Regions from separate parts of the Homo sapiens genome. Here regions 2 and 3 are each linked to region 1. Evidence: promoter capture Hi-C in 16 types of primary human blood cells and fetal thymus (Javierre and others, 2016). All regions are on one chromosome and are shown on one strand. Each heading gives the region's core, a stretch centred on a gene start or on the middle of the fragment in contact. The rest is flanking DNA. Distances are from core to core; before and after follow the strand shown.

Region 1 (3,157 bases), core at 175-2,674:
CTCAATCTCCTGACCTCGTGATCTGCCCGCCTCGGCCTCCCAAAGTGCTGGGATTACAGGCGTGAGCCACCATGCCTGGCCCTATTGTTACTATTTTTACCCCTCACTTCTGTACAGAGCATTTATGGCTCAAGAAACATTTGTCATTTTAATTGTATGGGAGTCCCACAACAGCATAGGGAGACATTTCTGATCATTATTCCCATTAGGAGGGTGGAGAAACTGAGGCTTTGGGAGGTGGTCCTGACCTAGGGAATCAATTTGCTGACTCACTAACCCATGAAGCTCTACAGTTAAAAAAGACTAGATTAAAAAATGAGAACTCAGTAAAGGGGCTGAGGCAGGAGGATCGCCTGAGTTCAGAAATTTGAGATCAGCCTCGGCAACATAGTGAGATCCCCTCTCTAGAAAAATTTTTTAAAAAATTAGGCCGCTCGAGGCAGAGTGCAGTGGCTCACGCCTGTAATCCAACACTTCAGGAGGCTGAAGAGGGTGGATCACCTGAGGTCAGGAGTTCCAGACCAGCCTGGCCAACATGGTGAAACCCCGTCTGTACTAAAAATACAAAATTAGCCGGTGTGGTGGCACACGCCTGTAGTCCCAGCTACTCAATAGGCTGAGACAGGAGAGTCTCTTGAACCCGGCAGGCGGAGGTTGCAGTGAGCCGAGATCGTGCCACTGCACTCCAGCCTGGGCAAGACAGAGCGAGACTCCGTCTCAAAAAATACAAACAAAACAAACAAACAAAAAATTAGGCTGCTAGCTCAGTGGCTCATGGCTCACACCTGAAATCCTAGCACTTTGGGAGGCCAAGGCAGGAGGATCGCTTCAGCCCAGGAGTTCGAGACCAGGCTGGGCAATACAGGGAGACACAGCGCCCCCACTGCCCCTGTCCGCCCCGACTTGTCTCTCTACAAAAAGGCAAAAGAAAAAAAAATTAGCCTGGCGTGGTGGTGTGCACCTGTACTCCCAGCTACTAGAGAGGCTGGGGCCAGAGGACCGCTTGAGCCCAGGAGTTCGAGGCTGCAGTGAGCTGTGATCGCACCACTGCACTCCAGCTTGGGTGAAAGAGTGAGACCCCATCTCCAAAACGAACAAACAAAAAATCCCAAAAAACAAAAGAACTCAGCCAAGTGTAAAAGCCCTTTCTGATCCCAGGTCTTAGTGAGCCACCGGCGGGGCTGGGATTCGAACCCAGTGGAATCAGAACCGTGCAGGTCCCATAACCCACCTAGACCCTAGCAACTCCAGGCTAGAGGGTCACCGCGTCTATGCGAGGCCGGGTGGGCGGGCCGTCAGCTCCGCCCTGGGGAGGGGTCCGCGCTGCTGATTGGCTGTGGCCGGCAGGTGAACCCTCAGCCAATCAGCGGTACGGGGGGCGGTGCCTCCGGGGCTCACCTGGCTGCAGCCACGCACCCCCTCTCAGTGGCGTCGGAACTGCAAAGCACCTGTGAGCTTGCGGAAGTCAGTTCAGACTCCAGCCCGCTCCAGCCCGGCCCGACCCGACCGCACCCGGCGCCTGCCCTCGCTCGGCGTCCCCGGCCAGCCATGGGCCCTTGGAGCCGCAGCCTCTCGGCGCTGCTGCTGCTGCTGCAGGTACCCCGGATCCCCTGACTTGCGAGGGACGCATTCGGGCCGCAAGCTCCGCGCCCCAGCCCTGCGCCCCTTCCTCTCCCGTCGTCACCGCTTCCCTTCTTCCAAGAAAGTTCGGGTCCTGAGGAGCGGAGCGGCCTGGAAGCCTCGCGCGCTCCGGACCCCCCAGTGATGGGAGTGGGGGGTGGGTGGTGAGGGGCGAGCGCGGCTTTCCTGCCCCCTCCAGCGCAGACCGAGGCGGGGGCGTCTGGCCGCGGAGTCCGCGGGGTGGGCTCGCGCGGGCGGTGGGGGCGTGAAGCGGGGTGTAGGGGGTGGGGTGTGGAGAAGGGGTGCCCTGGTGCAAGTCGAGGGGGAGCCAGGAGTCGTGGGGACGATCTTCGAGGGAAGGAGAGGGGCATCCGTAGAAATAAAGGCACCTGCCATGCCAAGAAAGGTCGTAAATAGGAGTGAGGGTCCCGGGGATAAGAAAGTGAGGTCGGAGGAGGTGGGAGCGCCCCTCGCTCTGAGGAGTGGTGCATTCCCGGTCTAAGGAAAGTGGGGTACTGGAGAATAAAGACATCTCCAATAAAATGAGAAAGGAGACTGAAAGGGAACGGTGGGCTAGGTCTTGAGGGGGTGACTCGGCGGCCCCCTCCCGGGAGTTCCTGGGGGCTCGGCGGCCGTAGGTTTCGGGGTGGGGGAGGGTGACGTCGCTGCCCGCCCGTCCCGGGGCTGCGGGCTGGGGTCCTCCCCCAATCCCGACGCCGGGAGCGAGGGAGGGGCGGCGCTGTTGGTTTCGGTGAGCAGGAGGGAACCCTCCGAGTCACCCGGTTCCATCTACCTTTCCCCCACCCCAGGTCTCCTCTTGGCTCTGCCAGGAGCCGGAGCCCTGCCACCCTGGCTTTGACGCCGAGAGCTACACGTTCACGGTGCCCCGGCGCCACCTGGAGAGAGGCCGCGTCCTGGGCAGAGGTGAGGGCGCGCTGCCGGTGTCCCTGGGCGGAGTAGGGAGGGGTTGGAAAGGGGCCGAGAAATTGCACTCCCACACCCCTGGGTTGCAATGGGCAAGCTCCCTCCTTGGCTCAAACGACACCCCTTGGAATTTACGCAGATTTGGGGATCCAAACGTTTACGACTGAACACTGTGGTGGAGGGGGTAACCCTGCCTGGTTGTTGACTATGTTATAAAGAAGAGGAGGTTGAGGGCACTTACTAGAAGCCTTCGTATTTCTCTTATTGCCCTCAGCACTGTAGAGACAGTCTCTCATTTCAGACTGCAAAAACCTGGTGGGTGGGAAGGCCTGGCAGGAGTATTCCCGTTTTACAGTTGAGCAAACCGAGGCTAAGAGAGTGACGTCCACTTGCTCAGGGTCAGCAGAGCAGATATCTGAACTGGGATCTGACTCCCAGGCCCCATTAAGCACCATCTCTGGGATGACTGAAGAGCAGCCCTCTCTTGGTTACTGGGCTGTGGCTTTTGTTTACAGATATAAAAGCTTTTTTTTTTTTTTTTTTTTTTTTTTTTAAAGACAGGGTCTTGCTCTGTTGCCCAAGCTGGAGTGCAGTGGCACAATCATAGCTTACT
Region 2 (3,157 bases), core at 474-2,973, 220 kb before region 1:
GTCATTGCAGGCCCAGGAGAGCGGGGGAGTCTGTAGTTATTTCAAGCAAATTTTAATTCACTTTAATTTAATAACATATGACCAAATACCTTTGAGAGAGTGGCAGGGGACAGAACTGGAAATCAGAGAGTGCCAGCCCTGTGAACTGAGGTGTTTCTTATTTGTTTTTTGCAAGAAGCTGTACTTATATTAATTCATTCATTAACCCATTCATTCAGGGCATGAATATTAAAGGCTGAGGATTAATAAAATATACAACTCAGCTTCCCCCCGGCTCACAGGAAATCCTGGCCAGCTAGGAAGACCGACAGATGAACAGAAAGTTGCAATGTAGGGGCCAGGTGCGGTGTCTTATATCTGTAATCCCAACACTTTGGGAGGCCAGTGTGACAGGATGACATGAGGCCAGTTAAAGACCAGCCTGGGCAACAAGCAAGATCCCATCTCTATAAAAAATACAAAAATTAACCGGGCATAGTGGGACACGCCTGTTGTCCTAGCTACGTGGGAGGCTGAGGCAGGAGGATTGGTTGAGCCCAGGAATTCAAGGCTGCAGTGAGTTATGATTTCACCACTGCACCACAGCCTGAGTGACAGAGTGAGGCCCTGTCTCAAAAAAAAAAAAAAAAAAGTTGCAATGTAGGGCCACATCCTGGGCCTAATACCTGGTGTTCAGTAGAAGTTTGTGGAATAAATACAGGATTGAAAGGGTGGTTTTGGGAAGGTGCCAGAAAGAGTGAACATCTAGCTGGGTCTTTTTCTTTTTGAGACGGAGCCTCGCTGTGTCGCCCAGGCTGGAGTGCTATGGCGCAATCTTGCTCACTGCAACCTTGGCTCCTGGGTTCAAGCAATTCTCCTGCCTCTGCCTCCCGAGTAGCTGGGATTATGAGCACCCGCCACCACACCTGGCTAATTTTTGTATTTTTGGTAGAGACGGGGTTTCACCATGTTGGCCAGGTTGGTCTCAAACTCCTGACCTCAAGTGATCCACCCGCCTCAGCCTCCCAAAGTGCTGGGATTACAGGCATAAGCCACTGTGCTCAGCCTTCTAGCTGGGTCTTGAAGGATGAATAAACTCACCAGGAAGGCAAGCAAGTCCAGGGCACATCCAGGGACTGCCTGTGACGAGGAGAAAAGGATCACGTGTAACAAGGAGATGCTGGTTACATTTGCTGGGCTGGGGAAGGTTGCCCAGGGAATGGGGACAGGGTGAGAAGAGGAAAAGGGCAAGGAGGGGCCCTGATGAGGAGTGACACTCAGGAAGGTAGACTCTGAAGAGAAGTCCTCCCCCACCCCTCAAGCCATCACTGAGATCTCTACCCCAGGCCAGCGCCTACTCATCCTTCAAGGCTCAAGCATCACTTCCTCCAGGAAGCCTTTCTGCCCAGCTCAGGCTGTGGTCCTCCCCCTTCCATGTGGTGCTCCCAGCACACTGCGCCACCAACCTTGTGACTGCCCACCTCCAGTCCTGTATTGGGTTGGCTTGTCTGTATGCTTGCCTGTCTCCCAACAGAGGCTGTATGCCCAGTTCTGGTGATGCTGCCCCACCCCATGCACTAGTGGCTCCCTGGATTCCGGCCGGGCTGTGCTGCCTATGGGATTCCATCACACAGATGCACGAGGCCTGTAAGGAAAAGTGGATCCCAAAGCCAGAGTCTGAGTCAAGGGTTGCTGGGGGTGGGGTGTGGACAGGGGGTTGGCCGAGGGAAGGGTATTTTACTCCACATCACATAAGATTTTTACACTCATTGCCAGGCACAGTGGCTCACGCCTGTAATCCCAGCACTTTGGGAGGCCGAGGCAGGTGGATCACTTGAGGTCAGGAGTTCAAGATCAGCCTGGCCAATATGGTGAAACTCCAGCTCTACTAAAAATACAAAAATTAGCCAGGCCTGGTGGTGCACCCCTGTAGCCCAGCTACTCTGGAGGCTGAGGCAGGAGAATCACTTGAACCCGGGAGGCGGAAGTTGCAGTGAGCCAAGATAGTGCCACTGCACTCCAGCCTGGGCGACAGAGCGAGACTCTGTCTCAGAAAAAAATAATAATAAATTGCACTCTCTCTTCTTTGTTTTTTTTTGTTTTGAGACAGAGTCTTTCTGTCGCCCAGGTTGGAGTGCAGTGGCATGATCTCGGCTCACTGCAGCCTCCGCCTCCCAGGTTCAAGCGATTCTCCTGCCTCAGCCTTCCAAGTAACTGGTATTACAGCGCCCACCACTACGCCTGGCTAATTTTTGCATTTTTAGTAGAGACGGGGTTTCATCATGTTGGCCAGGCTGGATAATCCACCCACCTCAGCCTCCCAAATAACTGGTATTACAGCGCCCACCACTACGCCCGGCTAATTTTTGTATTTTTAGTAGAGACGGGGTTTCACCATGGTGGCCAGGCTGGATAATCCACCCACCTCGGCCTCCCAAAGTGCTGGGATTACAGGCGTGAGCCACCGCGCCCGGCCAGACTTTTACACTCTCGAGAGGGACTTTGGAAGTGCCGTGGGTGACAGCCCTTCTGAAGTCCCCAGGACCCTGGCTGGAAGGGATGGGTAATTAGAGCTGTTGTGCCTGGGTGACAAAGCCAGAGAAGCCTGGTCCCTGGAGGAGAAACCGAAATGTCTGGAGAGGTGGGGCGGGTGGCCAGGCTCAGGGTAGAGAGAAGCAATACAGAGGCCAGGTAAGAGAGCCGCCCCCTCTCTGGACAGGGCTGCAGGTGAAATACGCCGCCCGAGGTAAAGGAAAGAACTGCAGGTTCCATAAGTGTCCGCTAGGGGGCTACCGAGGATACACCAGCTGGGTCGCCTTGGTAACCGCGGAGCTGCGAATGTGTTGTCCCCACGCGGTGGCGGGGAGGTACCAAGATCGCCCCAGGCGCGGCGTATCAGACGCTGGGGTGGGGGCGGGGGTCTGTGGCCATCAGCCCCAGGCAGGCCGTGAGCCCAGGCCAAGGTCCAGGCAGAGATGAAGGACCCAGCTTACTTTCACCTTCGTGTTTTCTCACCTCTGCTCAGGTCACACCTTCACTGGTTGAACTGGACTTAGCAGTTGTGGTAGGAAAAATTAAAATGGTGTTTTGGATCAGCCAAAACAGCTCCTGCATTGTACAGATGAAATAGCAACCCAGAGAGGGAAAGTCACTTGGAGATCACACAACAGCAGACCTG
Region 3 (3,157 bases), core at 279-2,778, 200 kb before region 1:
GCCATGTTGCCCAAGCTGGTCTTTTAATTCCTGGGCTCCTCCCTCCTCAGCCTCCCTGTGCTATTGACGTGTTATTTCATTACTTGTTAGCCCCTTGCGCAGGATTTTGTGTTTGGGACAAGCCAACAGTGATGGAAATTTTCTCCCTTTTTTGTTTTGTTTTTTTTGAGATGGAGTTTTGCTGTTGTTGCCCAGGTTGGAGTGCAATGGTGCAATCTCGGCTCACCACAACCTCTGCCTCCCAGATTCAAGCGATTCTCCTGCCTCAGCTTTCTGAGTAGCTGGGATTACAGGCATGCGCCACCAAGCCTGGCTAATTTTGTATTTTTAGTAGAGACGAGCTATCTCCATGTTGGTCAGGCTGGTCTCGAACTCCTGACCTCAGGTGATCCGCCAGCCTCAGCCTCCCAAAGTGCTGGGATCACAGGCTTGAGCCACCGCACCCGGCATAAAGCATTTATTTTTGAATGTTCATATTTTTGATAAAGCAGTGTGACATCAGGAACATTTCGTTGCAGTCATTTTCTACCATGTTGGTATGCAATGCTCTAATGTTAAGAAATCAAGCTGAAATCTAGGAAATGTAGCCTGAATGTCTGTGATATATAAGACATAATTACATAAACGTAATAGCTGTATCTAAAAGTTGACCTATCTTTGTGTTGAAAATTTCCATCGGGCCGGGCGCGGTTGCCCATGCCTGTAATCCCAGCACTTTGGGAGGCCGAGGCGAGTTCGAGACCAGCATGACCAACATGGAGAAAACCTGTCTCTACTAAATATACAAAATTAGACGGGCCTGGTGACGCATCGCATGCCTGTAATCCCAGCTACTCGGGAGGCTGAGGCGGGAGAATCGCTTGAACCCAGGAGGCGGAGGCTGCGGTGAGCCAAAATCGCGCCATTGCACTCCAACCTAGGCAACAAGAGCGAAACTGTGTCTCAAAAAAAAAAAAGAAAATTTCCATCATTGTTTGCTTGTCCCAAACAAAATCCTGCGTAAGGGGATACGAAGTAATGAAATAACACGGCAGTAGATCTGCCTTTGCACATTGCTCAGGAGGCCACGGATTTGTCCGAAGTTTCTTTTTTCTCTAAAATGAGAAATGGAAAATTGCCTTTTGAAGAAGATGTAAATGCCCCACCCTCTGACGCTGTCTCACTCCCTTCCTGTGTCACTCTTACCGCTGAAGTCAGGACCTGACATTATCTTGTTGACATGTTTGCGTTTTTATCGTCAGCCTCGTCGAAAGGGGCGTACGATTGCTCCCCGAAACCAGGGTCTTTCCCGGCCGATTCCCCAGCTAGCAACAAGCCCCTTGCAAAGAGGAGGCGGACAGTGACTGGAATACAGGGACACGCACACTCGAGCCACACTGGCCGCCTCCCTCGGCCCTCGCAAGGGTCCCTAACGCGCCTTCGGAAGCCGCCTAGGCGGGGCCTGCGCGCGCGGGCCTCTGGGAAGTGTAGTTCGCGCGCCCGGCGTGGACCCGGGGTTGCAGGAGCGAGGCTCCGAGTGCGCAGGCGCACTTCCAGTTCTGCCCCACCGCTGCGGCCATTGTCCGACCCCGGTGCGGCTGAGGCCCCTTTGGGCAGCCCCTCCGCAGATCAGAATTGGAGATAACCGAGGCTTCGGCGGGGGCGGGAGGAGCTGCCCGAGGCTCTGGGTGGGCCGGAGGTCGCGAAATCCGGAGCCCCCCAGAGGCGGTGATTCTGAGTGCGCGGGTCTGGGCGGGACCCCTCCTGGGTTTGGCGGGTGTCAGCCGGGCCTCGCCCACCACCCTGCGAAGGGGACTGGGCGTGGCCGGAGGGGGGTGTCCGGGAGGCCGCTGAGCCTTTCATTTCGGGGATGGGGAGCGGCAGGCCCGGGCTGGTTCCACGGTCCTCGCCACCATCTCCCCTGGAGATGTGGTTTAGGGGCGGAGGTGGGGCGGGGCGGGGCGGGGTGGGGTCGGTGTTGCAGCGGGGTGAGTGGGCCCTGTCCTTTCTCCCCAGCTCCTGCCCCGGAGCCGGGCCCTGGCGAGGCAGGAATGGCCCCGAGGCCTCCGACCGCCGCGCCCCAGGTGAGCAACGCGTTCCTAACCTCCTGGGCATCCCATCCATCTATCCATCCCATCTCCCAAGGGTGTTTGGAGCAGTCATTGTTCTCTGCCTGGCGACTCCCTTACTTGCTTGGCTCGATCGGAGCCTCCTGGCCATGGAAAACCCCAGGCTTTGGGGAGCTGGATTCCCAAAGGGGAGGCTGCTCTGTGGGGTAGAGAGGGCCAGTGTGGTGCGATCTTGTGGGAGGAGTTGAGATTGGATGCGTTGGGAAGTGTCAGTTTTGAGAGTCCTGAATGCCACGCCAGTTTTTTGAACTCTTGTCAATAAGAAATGGAGAGAGTGGGGTCACAGGATGGAACACTGTAGAGGAGGAAGTGACTGTCGGCAAGTGTGGAGAGAGGAGCCCCAGCTTCTGACCCAGGGCCCATAGAGAGTCCGTAAGGGGCCGTAGAAGCCTGGTTAGAACATGTCTAGGAAGAGGCTGGAGATGGGCTTTCTTGGGCAAGGAGGCAAAAACAAAACAAAATAAAAAACAACCAAAAATAAAACCAGGGCTGATTCTCCCAGAGCTTTTTGTGTCTGTCCTTTTCTGCTTTAACAAAAATGTAATAGAGCAACTCACTCCCCACCGCCAGAAGTCCAGCCTTCACCTTAATGTGAGGCTGATTCGTGAACCCATTTATTCTTGTGGCAGAGGGGGCATTTTCTAGAAGCGTCACAACTCTAAGGTTATCCATTGATTTACATATTGGTGAAAATACATCAAGATCCAGATGGTATCTGTATCTTTGAATCTACATTCTCTTTAGAATTAAGGGAAAATGACAGATTGTAGTTGCTAGGTGTGTGAGACATCAAGATCAATTCAAATAAAAATACCAAGTTGCCAGGTACAGTGGGTCACACCTGTAAGTCCAGCACTTTGGGAAGCTGAGGCAATAGGATCGTTTAAGCCCAGGAATTTGAGACCAGCCTGGGCAACATAGTGAGACTCCGTCTCTGCAAAAAAAAAAAAAAAAAAAAAATTTAAAAGATAAAAACACCAACTTAGTAATGTCCTTTAAAAGAGCAGTTTATAGTGAATTAAGCATACAATACATCATGCCTTTTTTTT

What was found. The method cuts DNA at HindIII sites, captures the fragments that hold promoters and counts their contacts. A CHiCAGO score of 5 or more calls a contact.
Region 2: a contact is called between a fragment that was not itself captured here and the fragment with the promoter of CDH1 in region 1, in 3 of 17 cell types (erythroblasts, M0 macrophages and M1 macrophages). The highest score is 5.3, in erythroblasts.
Region 3: the fragment with the promoter of ZFP90 here is called in contact with the fragment with the promoter of CDH1 in region 1 in 2 of 17 cell types (monocytes and fetal thymus); the score reaches 7.1 in monocytes.

The regions. Positions count from the first base shown.
Region 1 is chr16:68,735,868-68,739,024 of GRCh38, forward strand. CDH1 (cadherin 1) reads left to right here and starts at 1,425. Exons shown (of 16, transcript NM_004360.5): 1 at 1,425-1,596; 2 at 2,430-2,544. The coding sequence starts at 1,549. RefSeq lists an enhancer at 446-590, a cis regulatory region at 518 and a silencer at 1,471-1,540. The HindIII fragment of the contact is 3,737 bases long and covers 1-3,066 here.
Region 2 is chr16:68,518,030-68,521,186 of GRCh38, forward strand. No RefSeq gene overlaps it. Among named protein-coding and RNA genes, the nearest start is that of ZFP90, 20 kb to the right of the region's middle. RefSeq lists enhancers at 2,846-2,925, 2,946-2,995, 3,036-3,085. The HindIII fragment of the contact is 3,788 bases long and covers 1-3,157 here.
Region 3 is chr16:68,537,763-68,540,919 of GRCh38, forward strand. ZFP90 (ZFP90 zinc finger protein) reads left to right here and starts at 1,529. Exons shown (of 5, transcript NM_001305203.2): 1 at 1,529-1,717; 2 at 1,996-2,063. The coding sequence starts at 2,031. The HindIII fragment of the contact is 12,761 bases long and covers 1-3,157 here.